2 separate regions of the Homo sapiens genome follow, and region 2 is linked to region 1. Evidence: promoter capture Hi-C in 16 types of primary human blood cells and fetal thymus (Javierre and others, 2016). All regions are on one chromosome and are shown on one strand. The core of a region is centred on a gene start or on the middle of the fragment in contact, and the rest is flanking DNA. Distances in the headings are between cores, read along the strand shown. Region 1 holds the start of RDH11 (retinol dehydrogenase 11). Region 2 overlaps MAX (MYC associated factor X).

Evidence for each region. The method cuts DNA at HindIII sites, captures the fragments that hold promoters and counts their contacts. A CHiCAGO score of 5 or more calls a contact.
Region 2: a fragment that was not itself captured here is called in contact with the fragment with the promoter of RDH11 in region 1 in 1 of 17 cell types (fetal thymus); the score reaches 5.7 in fetal thymus.

What each region holds. Positions count from the first base shown.
Region 1 is chr14:67,694,314-67,697,193 of GRCh38, reverse strand. It overlaps RDH11 (retinol dehydrogenase 11), which reads left to right and starts at 1,430. Exons shown (of 7, transcript NM_016026.4): 1 at 1,430-1,564. The coding sequence starts at 1,491. It also overlaps a transcript of GPHN not described here. RefSeq lists enhancers at 1,113-1,162, 1,183-1,232, 1,277-1,913 and a silencer at 2,263-2,322. The HindIII fragment of the contact is 2,925 bases long and covers 1-1,642 here.
Region 2 is chr14:65,097,599-65,100,634 of GRCh38, reverse strand. The region is part of intron 2 of MAX (MYC associated factor X); the gene reads left to right. Among named protein-coding and RNA genes, the nearest start is that of MAX, 3.4 kb to the left of the region's middle. The HindIII fragment of the contact is 750 bases long and covers 1,136-1,885 here.

The DNA.
Region 1 (2,880 bases), core at 181-2,680:
TCTTCTCTGACAGTCCATGAACTCCGGGCGAGCAGAGATTATGTGTTCCTGGCTTCCTGCTGGACATCAGCACAGTGCCTAGTACACTATAGGAATGCCATAAATGTTTGTCAAATGCGTGAATGACTGAATAAGGAACAAAACAAATGAAAGGCTTTTATAAAGTTATAAAACCCAATACAAATATTAGGTAACACAATAATGAGAATGTGACAAAATGTGATGATTGCTAGGTAATCTAATGTTAAATTGGTAGGAATTAGTATTGTGTGAAGGAAACCCTCTCTTCTCCAATTTGCTATAAAATATATTAGTTCATTGGAACCCGTGTCTTTTAACCAAATGGAAATTATGCAAAAGGACCAGAAAATATTACTGGGTACAATTAAGGAATCACAGACAGATATTGATTGGTTAAAACACCCTCCACTTTCACCCCCAGGAAATAGGCCTCAGATGAAAGAAACTATTGAACAGGGAACCTATTTATTCACAGAGAACATATTCATGGCCTTAATTCAAGACAGGATTAAATACTTTCACGAGTTGGCAAAACCAACTGTGCCAATCTGAGATATTCATTGCTACCCTGGGAGTTAATGTATGTGACCCAAGCCATCAGGAAGACGATATTCTATTATCAATGAACACTCAAACACTAGAAAAATCATGATAGTTGCCACCATAATTCAAGATAGACACAATAAAGTGATTCTCCTGAGAATGTCTTCAAGGACTTATTGCTTCCTCTTCTCTGGAAAAAGGAATCCTCGAGGAGGAAGGGTTTACATTCCCCCACCTTCCCAACTGTCAGACTTCGGACCGCTCCTCTCCTGTCTAATCCGCCTTTCATTTCCCAGACGCCAACATCTGATCTCCAGGAGAAACAGTGCGGTAACTGCCTAACCAGGATTGGGGAAAACTGAACCAGGCACTGGACTTGGGTCTGGGGAGATAGAGGACTGCAGAGATTTCACAAACACCGCGGTGCCTAGTACACTATAGGAATAAGTGTACTATTCCTATAGTGTATACTTTTTTTTTTCCAGAAAAATCCCTCTGGGGTATGAGCACTATTTTCAGTTCTGGTTCAACTTTTCATTGAGATTCTATGTGGATAAGAGGATCTTGTAGTGAAAAAAAGATAAAAAGCAGTGTTTTCATCTGAGTGTGAGAAACCATGTGTGCCTAGAGGTGGGAGAACTGAGTATTCAGAAGGCAGAAAAAATAACTGAGAGCTGGGTGAATGATCCCACAGGCCCTAAGCCCTAGATGGTTGGGGATTAGCGATGTATAATTCAACTTCTGCCAGCGTTGGCGGCAGCGCTCCCACGTAGCCAGCCTGAGGCTGTCAAGCTCTGGACTACATTTCCCAGAAGGTCTGCTCCCCGGGCTGTCGCAATTTGAATTGGGGCGTGTCTAGAAAGAGAAGCCATAGTCGGCGAGCAACGCTGGAGCATCCCGCTCTGGTGCCGCTGCAGCCGGCAGAGATGGTTGAGCTCATGTTCCCGCTGTTGCTCCTCCTTCTGCCCTTCCTTCTGTATATGGCTGCGCCCCAAATCAGGTCTGTGCAAATGTATTGCCTTCTCTTGAGAATTCTTGTTGCGGGGCGGGAGGGAAACATAGAATCCCCACCAAAGCTTTCTTGGAAAACTCCCCTGGGGGGGCTCCAAGATGGCGGAGCCCAGAGTTCGGTGGGTTGGAGGCGAGGTCCAGCTGTCCTGGGTGCCAGGAGGACACCCGAGACCCCAGGCGGTGAGAAAGGGCGGCAGTCCGGGGCACACTGCTTTTCCCTGGCCTGTTTTTCTTTTGTCTAAGCACCCCCTGATTCTGGCTCCAGGGAATCCCGAGGGTAAGGCTACCTCAAACGCTTGAGTTTCGGACTCTTCAATGGGATATGGCCCGACGCTGTTTTCCCCTTATTCCCCACGCCTTAAACCAGCCTTCGAGGTACAAAGGAGCGATTCCACATTTCGCCCTCTGAAACTGATAGCAATCGTAACATCTGCGGCCCCATCCTTGCTCTCTCGTTGCTGTTACAATCGCTTGTTCTGTGGGCGGATGTTGTAAAGGAGAAAAGTGAAAAGGAAGAGTGTTTGGTTATGAGCTCTATCCTGCCTTGCGAGCAGGAGCACGGGGGATCTGAGTTAGGAGCTAGGGTACTGGGGCGGTGAGGGCTGGGAGAATGGTGGGAAGGTATTGACCAGGTGATAGATCAATCAGCCCAAGGCTGGCCAAGTGCCCCAGTGAATCAGCAGCGGGCTGTAAAACCGGCAGCCTGCTTATTGGTTCTAAGTAAATCACCAGTGGTGACGGACCAGTGACTGAATAGACAGACACACTCCTTCCCCAGGTGGGCGGTCTTAGTCCCAATAGAACTTGAAGCCAGGCCAGATCACAGTCATTTCTTACCACAGTCACCTACTTTCCTTCTTTTATTTTTATTTTCTCTTCCTTCTCTGGTGCCCCTCTTCCAGTTATATTTTTTCTGCCTTCTGAACACTCAGTTCTCCCACCTCTAGGCACACATGGTTTCTCACACTCAGATGAAAACACTGCTTTTTATCTTTTTTTCACTACAAGATCCTCTTATCCACATAGAATCTCAATGAAAAGTTGAACCAGAACTGAAAATAGTGCTCATACCCCAGAGGGATTTTTCTGGAAAAAAAAAAAATATATGTGTGTATATATATATATATATGTGTGTGTGTGTATATATATATATGTGTGTGTGTGTGTATATATATATATATATATATTCCAGGAGCTGTATTCCCAACTCAGCAGGGTTATGGGAGTCGGGCCAGAGCTGGACTTTTATAGTTGTCTCTTTCATTCCTGCTGGTTAAGGAGAAGAAAGAACTAAGTACAGGTCCT
Region 2 (3,036 bases), core at 261-2,760, 2.6 Mb after region 1:
AAAAAGTTCAAATGCCCATGAGGGCCATAAAGAATAAAGAAGGAAGAGGTGAGGGCTTGGGTACTGGAGAGCAGTGCCTCTTCTAAAAAGTCAGCACTACTGAACTCCAGTGGTTTGTTAGTAGGAGTGAAGGGTCAGTATTGCCAGATCTTCCTATTTTTAATTTTATTTTATTTATTTATTTTTGAGACAGAGTCTCACTCTGTCACCAGGCTGGAGTGCAATGGCGCTATCTCGGCTTACTGCAACCTCCGCCTCCTGGGTTCAAGCGATTCTCTTGCCTCAGCCTCCCGAATAGCTGGGACTACAGGCGCGTGCCACCACACCCAGCTAATTTTTGTATTTTTAGTAGAGACGGGGTTTCACCATGTTGGCCAGGCTGGTCTCGATCTCTTAACCTCGTGATCTGCCAGCCTCGGCCTCCCAAAGTGCTGGGATTACAGGCATGAGCCACCACGCCCAGCCGATCTTCCTATTTTTTAAGAAAGATTAGAAATCTAAAACTTTATGTTATTTTTCTGATTTTTAAAATGATGTGTGGAACAACTGTTTGGGGGCTTGTTAGAATTTGCAGGATGTCACTTTGATACCTCTGGTATAAGAACTTGATAACCACAGGGTAAAGGCAAGCCATCTCAGTTATACCTGCTCTTCATTAGAGCAAGCAAAGATTGTGCAGGTTGTCTAAGCAGATAGGCATTAAGAAAACTTATTTATTGAGAGCTGATATTTCCATAAAATCCGGGGATGTAGTTGTTCCAAAAGTCTTAAAAATTATCCCTGGGTAATAGTCATTAAAGATAATTTGTTTTATTTTATTTATCCTTGAAGTATTCTCATATACTTATGCATATATTTGAAAATTGAATTCCTTTTTCACATTTACTTTTATCCTTCATGTTTGGGGCCTAGTCTGTTGAAAACTTTTTTTTTCCCTGCAAGTCTCCAGTTGTAAAATCTGTGCTAGGGCTTGATCAGAGCTGGAGGGTAAGGATCGTTTAGCCTTCCTTTGCAGAATTATCCTTTGAATTGAAATTATACTGACTTCCCAGTAAGAGAAAGTTGTGTTTTTTTTGTTTGTTTGTTTGTTTGTTTGTTTTTTTGGTGAAATTTTGGCTCGCAGTTCTTGAAAGCTTTCTGCTTTTCAAAATTTTCATCCATATGATCGTTGATATAAATTTGTTATTAAATTATTATAATGTTTCTGCTTTCCTGGAATGCTAATCTCATTGTTTTGTCTAGATGTTTTTAGTTTGCTGTTAAGGTGCCTAGGATTTTTCCTTTTGATTTTGGGGGTAGGCAAAGGAAGTTGGTTTGACACTTTGTTTTTAATTTAACACATCTATTTGTTGATATTTCTAAATATTACTCTGCACAATGTAATTACAACAGCATGGAGAGAAAAAGCAGATATGTTATAAACAAATTTTATAGTATATCAAACAACTATTGTGACTGTGTAGGGTAAAAAGGATTCCATTTTTTCCCCTCTGTGAATGCATCTGCTTACTTCTCAATATTTAATATGGATAATAAATATATTTTTTAAAATTTAAGAGGGAGCTATTCTTAAGTTTTGCCTTAGAAAAAAGGTTTAAAAAAAGATGTGGACTGTGAACAACCAAATACTTAGGTATTCAGGACTACAGAAGATGTTGAAAAAGTTATTTGAAAAGGGTTCTGTGGATCCTAATATAAAAACATTCATGTATGTTTTATAATGTCACTACAATATATAGGCCTTACTACATGAGAAATGTAAGATACTGAGAAGAGAGTTAGGAAGTTAGGCTAACTCTAACAGAAAGTGAAACTGATTTGGCAAATATTTTTTTCTATTGCTTCAGTACAAACGGAAAACAGCTTCTCCAATGGCCAGTAAGCTTTGTTAAAGGAAGTAACCCCAAAGAGTATTCTTACTACTAAATTCAGTACATCGCAAAATCCCACTGATGTTATTTTTATTATATTTTGGAGGGAAGAGGTTGCATTTTAAAGATAAATTTGTGGGACAGGTATATTATATTGCAAGGGCTTCCTTTTGCTTTATTTCTGTTTGGGAAATTTCTTTAGGAAAGAGTGTAAGTATACAGGAAATGTATGGGTTAGTGTGTTGGTCAGGAAATGCAATTTTTTTTCCAGTGACCATCCTTGATGGCACCTGACTGAGTTGCAGTTGCAGTATACTTGTGAGGGGTTTGAAAACAGATTTGTGCAATTCCACTTCTGGACCTTTCTGGCATGAAATATTTTTAACTTCTCAGAGCTCTTTGCTTCTTTAGGAATATTCAGAAGAGAACGAGCTTGGTAGCCTCCGAGATTGGAATTCACTCAGGAAACTACTGTCTGTTTTACCTGCAGTCAGTTGCATGGCAAAAGTGCTGCACAATGCATGTACTTTTTCTCTGCTTAGAGTGTTGACAGTGATGCTTACAGTGATAACAAATGCCAGAGTTAGTTCCTAAATGTGCCTGTGTTAGGGTAAAAGTTGTTCTTATGTCTAAAAGAATTTTTCCAAGATGCCAGTAACGGTGAAATAGTTGGTCAAAGAATTCAGCTTGGTTTTTAATTAAAATTTCCTGACCAAGGCATCCTTCTCTGAAATGGCTATAGTATGAGGCCCTGTTTGGATTATAGCATTTGCCAGTTATTTTAGGCACCAAAAGAAAAAAGTTTGAAAACAAATACATACATTAGATAATGTTGGAAATGTATACCAGGCAATCAGCTACAAGCAGGACAGGTATTGGAAAATTGAAATCCATGTCTTTCTCTTAGGGAGCTTGGTGAGTTTATCCCATCCTACCTGCCTATTATTTTATGTTATAATTTTTGGGTTGATTAAAATGAATATTTTAAGTTGCTTAGAAATTGAGCTTTATCCTATCTTGTTCTTATCTATCAGAAGTAAGAAATAGATCTTTTCGGATGAGATTTTTGGGTCTGTGTATTCTCGTGTCCTTAGTCTCTAATAAGAATAGCTTGATAAGAATCATAAGCAACACAAGCTTCCCTCTAAAATACAACCTTCACATT